Regions from separate parts of the Homo sapiens genome. Here region 1 is linked to region 2. Evidence: promoter capture Hi-C in 16 types of primary human blood cells and fetal thymus (Javierre and others, 2016). All regions are on one chromosome and are shown on one strand. Each heading gives the region's core, a stretch centred on a gene start or on the middle of the fragment in contact. The rest is flanking DNA. Distances are from core to core; before and after follow the strand shown. Region 1 has its middle 120 kb from the start of TMEM74. Region 2 holds the start of RSPO2 (R-spondin 2).

The links. The method cuts DNA at HindIII sites, captures the fragments that hold promoters and counts their contacts. A CHiCAGO score of 5 or more calls a contact.
Region 1: a fragment that was not itself captured here is called in contact with the fragment with the promoter of RSPO2 in region 2 in 1 of 17 cell types (M0 macrophages); the score reaches 6.2 in M0 macrophages.

Annotation. Positions count from the first base shown.
Region 1 is chr8:108,667,559-108,672,559 of GRCh38, forward strand. It overlaps a transcript of TMEM74 not described here and the pseudogene LOC124902049. Among named protein-coding and RNA genes, the nearest start is that of TMEM74, 120 kb to the right of the region's middle. The HindIII fragment of the contact is 521 bases long and covers 1,340-1,860 here.
Region 2 is chr8:108,079,776-108,085,298 of GRCh38, forward strand. It overlaps RSPO2 (R-spondin 2), which reads right to left and starts at 3,845. Exons shown (of 6, transcript NM_178565.5): 1 at 3,422-3,845; 2 at 2,770-3,032. The coding sequence starts at 2,863. RefSeq lists silencers at 1,866-2,160, 2,701-2,876 and an enhancer at 2,038-2,984. The HindIII fragment of the contact is 4,613 bases long and covers 743-5,355 here.

The sequences.
Region 1 (5,001 bases), core at 350-2,849, 590 kb after region 2:
GGGTAGTAGGAACTACTTACTGACTTCAGGATTTTCCATGATAATATAGTTATGATAAAGGGAATTTCAAGGTTTTGCAAATTATAGACTGGTAAAATTCAGATCCCTTAGATATTTTTTAATGGTCTCATTCATCATTTCTCCTTTGTCTGCATAGTTTATAAAAGTAGAATTCCTAGCTCTAATTCATCTTTGGAATGTTATGTAGATTCCACACCTCTCCCTACTGCCTACCTACACCCTCCCAGCCCCATCCCCTGCCAGATTTCAGCATTCTGCTCTCTGTTCTTTCCCCTCTTTAAATGAACGAAATTGAACGCCTAGTACCTCCTCCCATAATACTAAGAAGCAGAACAATGCTGTCATCTGCTTCATTTTATGGACACCAGTGATTTTCCTGTAGTGGAATAACTCTTGATTAAATATTTTCCATGCTCCTCCACATTTCCTGGTTCTACAGCTCTTGTTTCCCTGACTTAAAGCAAAAATATTGCTTGGCTAAGATACCATGCTCTATTTCAAATCAGTTTGCCACTAAAATTTGGTTATTGGAATGTCCTTTAAAAGGCAAACTACCCATATTTGAATATTACTCACAGGATAAAAAATCAACCAGCCATCTCCTCAGTATGTTCATAAATTTAATAAGTGATTTTTCAAAGAGCTTTTTATAATTATCCCTCTTTTAGAAATATAACCTCAAAGCTGATTTCTAGTTATGGCTTAATACATTTATCAAAACATAAGTTAATATATAAAGGCACATTTATATTATCTGCAACATTTACCTTTTCCAGCTAGAGAAACTATGTTGTTTATCAGTTATTGTATTAATAATAGTCATTGGTTAATGTTATTAGGGAAGTTATACCATTTTCATGACATGTCATAACAAAATAAGCCACAACAGCAACAATAGCACCAGCTCTAACTCTGGTACTACTACTACTATTGGTAATTCTGTGTCTACTGGCCCTGTGAGATAAGCCTGACAGCTACACTTATTCCCATTTTAAGGATAAGGAACCTGAAGCTGAGCACACTTCAGTGACTTATTTTAAGGTCAAAGCACACACCCAAGGTAGAAGCAAGGAAAGAAACCAGTTTTTCTGACTTTCAAGAATACATAGTTGGGTACTGGGTTTTTGTTATGTTAACAGCACCTGATATATCGGGGAAGTTTGACTCTTATCAAAGCAAAATAAACATATTTATACAAAAAATATCACATTAAAAACTTTTTTGTCAATCTTGAGACTCCAAATTTCATCATTGGTATGACTGTTTTTTCCCGTCCTCCAGAACTTTGTGTTTCTGCTTGGTCCTAAAGCATTGGAGAAGCTTATTCAGATAATCGGTCAGTAGTCTGCCACAGTTGAACTGCAGTTACAACATTAATCCAGTTTACATTGTAATTTAGTCTGAAGTTCTGCTGTTTCTGTGCTGCACTTGGGCACAGAAGATTTTTATGACCAGGGAATCTTGGTGCCTGAGATCTTGGCTCCTTACACACCCTACTCAACCATTCCCCCTTTGAAGTCTTGCCACTTTCTTAGGTTGCTGTTAGAGCATATGCAGGCAATACTTAGGGGACTTATAGATCTCTCTCGTTTTTCAGGTTATGTTTCAGTTTATCAAATACGTAACTTCTCCTTTCTGCCTGACTTCCTGACCCTCAAAGCATTATTTTCTTTCTTTCTGCCTAAGACTTTGCCAAAGTCGCTGAGGCTGGGGTTGCAGCCTGCTCAAGAAGGAGCGGATATAAGGAGGACACACACAAGTTATCCTGCCGAGCACGTTACAATGAAAAGGTCATCATTAGTGGCCCTTTTAGTCATTTAAAACATTTACTGAGCCCAAAGCTTTCACCTTCTATTCTGGGCTGAAATGCAGAGAAAATTTGGGCTGGTGATATTTGCATATATGCTGTAAGGAGTAGAAGAAAATCATATCCTTCAATTCTTGGTAGTAAGTGGAAATAACTGGTGACTCTGAGCAGATTCTGATTAGAACAATAAGATATTAGCTTTGTTTTCAAATTTTAATAAGATTTTAAGTAAGATTTTTGAAAGCAGAGGAAAGTTTATATACTTGACTATTTCCATTGTCAGTTTATCATTGACAGTCACAAATCAGAGGGAAGTGACAATCATCTCCAGAATGAGAGAATACAGCATTCTTCAGAAGTAGTGCATGGGGCCAGGCATGGTGGCTCACGCCAGTAATCCCAGCACTTTGGGAGGCTGAGGTGGGCGGATCACCTAAGGTCAGGAGTTCGAGACCAGCCTGGTCAAGATGGTGAAACCCCATCTCTACTAAAACTACAAAACTTAGCCAGGCATGGTGATGCATGCCTGTAATCCCAGGTATGGGGGAGGCTGAGGCAAGAGAATCACTTGAACTCGGGAGGCAGAGGTTACAGTGAGCCGAGATTGCACCACTGCACTCTAGCCTGGATGACAGAGTAAGATTCTGTGAAAAAAAAAAAAAAAAAAAAAAGGCAATGAATGGCTTAATTCCTTTTCTTTATATTCATTTTTTTTCTGTACTCAGGAAAACTATTCATAGTATAGTAGAAGTATAAATAAAATGTTCACTCTGAATCTGGATAAATTATTTGATCTGCTGTCAAAAGTCCTTTCTTTATTTCATAATAAAAAGTGTACATGATTTATTCCAGTTTCAGTTCCCCTATGAACAAATAGCCAATTCTAGTGCTGTGTTCAATATTTTTACTTCAGAACATTGAGTAGGCATTGGGTCAGAAGCACCACCTGCTTAGGGAATGATTTGCCCTGCAATGTCTTTGGAAAGAAAGGAGTGTCTTAGTTTAATCCAGTATCATGTGTTGTGTATCACAGTATGTGAGAGCTTTAGATCATCGATGGAATTTTGATACTGAGTCTCCCATATACTGCAGTGCTGTGTGGTTGTGGCTGAGTCTTAATGCACCATATGATGTCACTTCCCCATTATAAAAACAAATGAAGAGAGTAGTGATTTATTTTGATACTTTCTTTACTTGCTTCTCAACTCCCCACAAGATCTTTAATAAAACTGGCTCTTCAGAAACAGATTAAGAAGCCTTGAAAATAGTTATATACGACATCTTTGTGGAAAGTCAGGATACAGAAAAACATGAAAGATGGATGAATTTGGCGGTTTGTAACATGTTACCAGAATCTATTTTCATCCCATGTTCACCGTAATATTAGGACCCAGCAATGAATTTTAGGTTAAAGAAAAAGAAGGAAACCACAAAAAGAAAAAAGAAAATAATCAGAAAGTAATTGATTTATAAACCTTTATGTTCTGTTTTAAACTCCAAAATCCCCATAAGAGCGAATCAAAGTTCCAAGAATGACCAATTGTGCTCATTAATAATAAAAAGGCACACTAGAGAAGAAGTTGAGAATATCATACCTATGCTTAGTGATATGATGTTTTGAAAGTGAGTATACAGTTGGAAAAATACAGTTTCATTAGTCCTCTCAGTGGTTTTTGAATCAGGGAAGAACGCTGAGACCTGATGAGGGTTCATACAAAACTTGGTTGAATGCAGTTGCAAAATACATCACCTAAACTATAGGTAGGGACTGGTGATGGCCAGTGCTCACTCTTGGAAATATTTTCTTTAGTGTTTGACTAGGAGTTATCCAACTGTTTTTATAAGGCACCTCCAATTTGGCTTAGAATAGAGCCAAAAAGTTAAATACTAGCTCAAGCTCCCACAATATCTTGGTTTTCTATGTGGCAAGACAACAGGATTTTCACTTTGCCACATTGCCCATGGAGCTGTACCACCCTCTTGCCAAGGTTAGAAGGCCCCCTGGGGCAAAAGCAACTGTCCTGTTTCTGTTTGTGGTTGGACTGAAGATGTTCACATGGCTAATGACCCCTGTGCCCAAAAGAAAAGCAGGTGACATTAAGGTTCATGCAATATTGATGTGTTAAGAGGGTTTTCACAACTCAGGAAGCTCTCTTAGCTGAGTTGGTTCTCCGAAAATGTTGAGTCCTGTTTTCCGTGGCATGGTGCAGCTGATGTTGTCACTCTGTGGTCAGGAGCAGGAAAGCTGGTGGGGTGGAGAGAGATTAGTGGTCTGGAAGTATGTAATTGGTATTTCATGGCAACAGGGAGTTGACAGCCCTCAGGGACCACAAATGGAGGGGAGGACCAACAGCTCAACTAGATTAAAACAAACTATGATTGAAAAAAAGTAAGAGAGAAATATATTCAAGCAGTTAAGAATTTGATAAATTACTCTATAGATGAATTCCATATTGCCTTCCATAAAAGGTAAAGTGTTAAATGAGATAATATATGTAAGGAAGTTAGCCTAGTGCCAGGATGACAGTGATTAATCAATTGAAAACCTGCCTGCTTTTAGTATTATTCTGTATGGGGAGCAGTTGGGTATAACTTAAGCTTAGCACAAGTATTATTTCATTTAAATTTTCCCCTTATTTGTACTAGAGAATTTAATCCTTATTTCAGATCTTGTACCTGACACTGTGGGTGGAAAAACTCCACTCATGAATTTGGAGCGGGCAGGCACACGGCTACGGCAGTTGCCGTCCAACTGAGTGTGGTTAGTTTGTGTAACTGAAGCCAAGCAAAGCTAAGGCAGTGCTAGTACATGGATCCTTCTGTTAGACTAAATAAAGAAGAGTGAACCCATTTTTATGGGGAGGAAAAGAAGAAAAAATTGTTCCTAACAGTAGGGGATGGCTTGAGTCTAGGAACCTCAGGCTGTGTCTAAATTTTATCAAATATTCAGATGAAGCTGCACAAAAATTTACTCAATCATCCAGATGTTTCCAGAAATACAATATTTTGATTTCATGTAGATGAAATCAGGGAAAGATTAGATTTTATTTTTCTGGCATTGTGAGACACAGTCTCAGTATCTTTCTTATTGTCTGGTGTGTCTCCCTACTTAGGACTATGTTGTGGGGACCAGCACAGCTGCTTTCTGGGGTTGTCAGTCCCCGGCCTGGGCC
Region 2 (5,523 bases), core at 2,595-5,094:
AGCCAAGAAAATAACTAATCTTCCAAACTACAACACCTTTTATAAAAAATACCAATTACTTTTCTTCTTGGAAAATAATATTTAACTGACACTATCCAAAACAAAGGGGAAAAAGGGAAATGTTGGTATCACATAGGCCCTAACATGTCAACTGTCACTGCTGACATGATTTGGCCAGTAGTCAAGCATTCACTGAGGAACTAATTGAAATCAATCTTTTTGGGGAAAGCCAATTGTTTGGTATGCACAACAATTGGTGTAGGATCAATCAGTGGACATGAGATCAATTAAAACCAGCTTAAGTTTGTGAAGAGGGACAATTCACACAACTTGAGTTAGATCTCTATTCATTTCAATACTCTCACAATGCAATCCTTAAGCTTCCCTGCAAAGTAGAAAAGCTACTATCACCCTACACTGTCTGGCCAGCCCTTTAAGTAGTTCCACTTTTAATTAAAAACACAGTACACCCTTTGTTGGTACAGATAGTGTGGTCACTTTTAAGGACGACAGTTATTTTAGCCAGAAACTTGGGATTTGTAAAGGGATATCTGTTGAGAAGAAGAAAAAAAGTTTGATTTTTTTTTTACACCCTTACCAATTTACACGTTCTTGAAAGCATTTGAATTTTATTAAATCGAAAGGTTGATTTGGCATAAGTTACTATTGCACAATTTAGAGTTAGACTGTCAGTGCTTTGGGATGTGGATGGTAATCGTTACAAGAGATTTTGCTAAAAGTAAGCTTTGAAATAAATAGGTTCTGCTTCAGATACCTAAGAAGGCATAGGCAGATTCTTAGAGATGGCACTGCAGAGAAGGCATGCAGTATCCCTTCTGGCCGCAGGAGTGCTGTAATGTCCTTTTCCACCAAACAGCATCTCTGCATTAAGTTCTACTAAAACAATATGCTTGGTTCTTCCCCACTCAACCACAATGGGACAGGCAGGGTGGATCAGAAAGCCATCACTGAATTAGCAAGTCATCTAATAAGGATCTGGCAAAGGATTTTAGACATTTCTATATTTTGCAGACTTCAAGCACTTTAGTTTTTCTAAGTAGACTGCAGCTTTGACTTATAAAAAGAGGAAAAGCCTCTCCAAACACTTTTGACCATAATGTAATCAAAAATTGCTGGCTCTGCCGAATACTCGAAAGAAAGTACTGGGATTGAGAAAGGAATCAGGAGGGGAGGAGAGAGGAGATAAAAAGGGACTTTTTCAAGACAAGTATCAATATCAAACTCTCATGGCCTTTGGGAAGAAATTTCTCTCTAGTATTTTTAAGTAAAATAATTTCTGAAAATAAACAATTTCCAAAAGTCAGAAATCGGGGGAGAGGGAGGGAGAGAAGTTGGAGAAGGTTTATTCTTACAAGCCGCAGATACAGAGACAATTGAAGCGCAGGGACTACAGAAGTCGCACACCATCAGTTATTTGGAGCTCTGCGCTCAGGTGGGCCAATCTCTAGCTCTGCCCCTAGGTGAGAACAGCTTAACAATGTCCTAAAAAGCCATCAAAAAAATAAGGTTCGGAAAGTCCTCCTCAAAATCTGGATGCAGGAGCGGAGATTACACACAATGAGTTATAAACAAATCACATCACAGATCGAGTGAGATGTTTACATCTTGGAGAAAAAGTCAACATTCATGAACCCGGCGACAAATTCTAATTGCGCAAAAGTCCAAAGTGCCGAATGAAATAGACAGCTCTCACCAGGTCCCTGGGAAGGGGCTGCTGCGCGCCCTTCCTGCGCGGGTAATTCGATGTGCGTGTGGTGAGTGGTTTATGTTTAAATCCACCCAGAAAATTGAATCGTGTCTAGCCGCCCTTCTTCTAAAATGCAGTTGGATTAGTTGCATCTCCAGCGGACTCCGAGACAGAAATACGCACTAAATCTGCAGGAAAGCGAGTTCCCCGAAACCTTTCTGGAGGCTTCCACCCGCCTTCTCCGCTACGCACAAGTGATGGAGAGGGAGGGAGCAGTTAAAAAGCCGCAAGTGAATTTCATTGAGAACAGAAGCCTCCACCGGTGTGGCTGCTTTTGCAAAGCAAATGGAGAGAGCGAAGTGGGGCCTGTTTTAAAAACAAACCTCTGGAGGCGAGGACTCCCCAGAAAACCAGCGCGGGAATTGCTGCTTAATTCAGAAAGTTCCCATCTCGTCGCAGTTTCCAGAAAAAAGAGATCTATGTTGGCCTTTTTCTGGAAAGGGAGGTCCTCCCCCTCGACTTGGTACCCCTCCCAAGCTCCGGAATACAGACACACGCTTGGGTACACCCACACACCACACACACACTATGCTAGGTCAAGTCCGAAGAGATCTGAGGCCGGGTTTGGGGCGCACGTGGATGGGGAAGATAAAACAAATGAGCTACAGGGAAGATGGTTAGGAGGACAGAGAGAAGAACAACGACGACAAAAAAAAAATGCATGTCAGATAAGAAATACGTCCTAAAGAGACAAGTTTAGATGAGGAGGTGGGGCGGCGAACATGAGTGCGGACCGCACGACTTAGCCCTGAGCGCCCGATTGGCGCCCGGCTCGCCGAGCTCCCAGCGCGTCTCGCTCCGGCTCCCCGCGCCTCCAGGGTACAGAAAACAGAGTGTTTTGTAGAGCTCCAGGGTCCTAAAGGTGGGGACTGGGGACCCGCAAAAGCTGGGGTGGAGAGCACAGCCCTGACCATCTGAGCCCCCGGAGCCAGGGCGTGAGTGAGCGCCTCCACACGCCACCCCTGAAGCCCACCACGCACCTTTGGCAGAGAGGGACCCACCTCGCTTACTGCGTCTCCATCGGTTGCCTTGGCAGTGGCTGTAATCCATGCAGTTCAGAATGATGAGGGCAAAGGAGAAAAGGCGAAACTGCATCTGGGCGGTCGGGCGGGGGAGAGACGCCTCTCAAAGTCTAGGAACTGGAGGGTTCGCCCAAAGAGCCGGCGCCGGCCGCGCTGCTGGGGAGGACTCAGAGGGAGACTCGCCACTCACCCCCGGGCCGCACCGGTCAGTTCAGCGCGATCAGCATCTCTCCGCCACGAACCTGAGAGACAAGAAGCGAAAACAGGGTGTGTGGGGGATGGAGAGAGCCCCGGGGAGGCAGCTGCGCCTTCGCACGTCCCAATTTAAAGAAGAGAGGGAAGGAGGAAGCGAACCCACTGCCTAGCACGAGCCGCGGAGCGGCTTAATCCAGAGCGGGCAGCTGCGGACGAGTTGGAGAGGAAGGTGATTATAATCAGTGAATTAGCAACCTCTGCCGAGCCCTAAGCTCCGACCCAGCGGCATAATGCGTTGTGCCGGCGCTCCGGGGAAAGGAAAGAACTCTAAAGGCACTGAGAGCGCAGGGCTAAAAGAACGCTCTTAGGCCATTTGGAGTCCACGGCGGTGTACCCAAGCGCCGCAGCTGCGGCTGCCTTGGTGTGGGTTGCCTACCGTGCGCACGTCTCGGGCGGCGCGGCCTCCCTAGGCGCGGTGCTCCATCCCGGGCTCGGGAAGCGAGCCGCTTGGTTAGCACGTGGGCTGGGGAAAAGTTTGCCGAGACCGGCTGGGAGCGCCTGGCAGCTCTGGAATTCCAGCGGCCGCCGCGGGGTTGGCGACGCCAGGCAGGAGCGCGGAGCGGCGGGTGCAGCCACTGGGATGCTCCGTCCCCGCCCGCGAGCGCGGTCCCCAGGCAAGGGGTGCGCCCGCTCACACTCTCTGCCTCCCTAACCAATTGTGTCGCTTCCTGCGCTTTCTCCACGGTCACTTCACAGCTAAGATTTCTTTCTTTCCGAGCTGTAGAAGGCAGAACGCTCTCGGGAGGACGAAGTGATCCGAAGGGATGTGGCAAGCGCACTTTCCGATGGAGATGCAGACCGGCTGAGGCTTGGGATGCTTCTATAAGTAGGTGGTGCTGTGGTCCAAGGCATCTAAGTCTAGGCTGCCTCGGAGTTCCTGGGTCCTAAAGCCAGAAACGTCCCGGTTTCCCTGAGGTCCTAAAGAACGTTGACAGCCAACAGCGCGCCTAACTTGGAGCGAATCCTCTTCGGGCTTTCCAGAGTGCGGGGGATAGATAAAGAGTAGCTGGGGAGACGCCCCCTGACCTTGCTGGGTCCCAGAACCCGGCTGCTCACCCCCAAGGGGTCCTCTCCAGCCCTCTAGGGTCAGTTCCAACCTCAGCGCCAACCTTTCTGCAGGGAGATCTGACTGAAGGACTGATGACTCCCTTTAAACTTTTGCAATATGCCACAACTCTGCCACTTTTTAATTTACATCTTGTCTGTGTTTTGCAGGAAGGTATGTTAGCCGGCTGAAATTATTCATAAAACGCGCCCCCACTTTGAGGAGTGAAATGGGTATTCCCAACAGCTTTTGTTCATCCTCAGAACTGTTATTTACTTTGTTTCTTCTCCAATAAAACAAAAACCTGTGATCCGTTGCCTGAAGTGCTGAAGAAGTTGGGGCCTTGATTCTTTAAAAATAATTTTAAAAAGTTCACTTCCCACTAAAGTATTTTTCATTCTTAATCCTCCTCTCATTTCCAAAGTCTCCTGAATTAAACTTTTAGGTGCTTTGGGTTTGGGGAAAATATTCTGTTTAACAAAGTGTTACATTAAATAGACTTGATGCCATCCAATTTCATTCTGGTGAAATCTGTCCTGCATTCACTACTGTAGGAAAAAATGTATTTATTCCTTAAGCAAAAGATAAGAATTTATGCCACTAACCGTGGCAGTATGAATGTCTATAGATATGCCCGCAGTTACCATATTATTATGATAGCATTTTATACTATTTAAATTCCCTTTTCTATTCCTTCAGTTTCAGAAGATGTTCAGAAATTTGATGACTTAAAAGACAATCATATAAAAAGAATATTGCAATACTCATATTTATTAACTATTCCATTATTGCCTATTCATAACTATTTTACAGACTCACTATTACATAGTGGTATTTATGTGCTAAGAATTTCAGCAGTATGCCTTTGATGCATGCCTGAGAACACCCAAGTAAATCTGAGTTGAGGTCATTGGTCCCATTTCATAGATAAGAAAATCCATCACTGAGACTGGCCCACAGGGCACAAATAGAGTTCACAAAACACATTGCAGAAACAGTGGATCTGTTTCTTGACTTTTGAGCCTTTGATTTTTATCACAGAATTTGGAAACATTTCAGTGTAGGGAGTGGCCCCAGTGTTTGGCATAACTTGATATTTCTTGATCATCTTGATATGATGCTGAATATCTCTTCAGCACCATAAATACTACTTCTTTCCAAATATAGTCATATATGCACACAACAAATGAATTATACTTATAAAGGAGTTAAATCTATGGGAGAAAGGAAGTCTTCCCTAAGTAAGCCCCCCTGCCTCCTTGCAAAGCTTTGAGATCCATTCAAGATCAGTGGTCATCAGTGTCTTTTAAAATATTTAAAGGCAAAAGTAAACACAAGACCAAGCAGAGGTAGCGCTACCATTAATCACCTGCGTCACTTTGGGCAATTTTCTTGGTCTCAGTTTCCTTGGCAGTATTTTTAGGAAGTCTGTC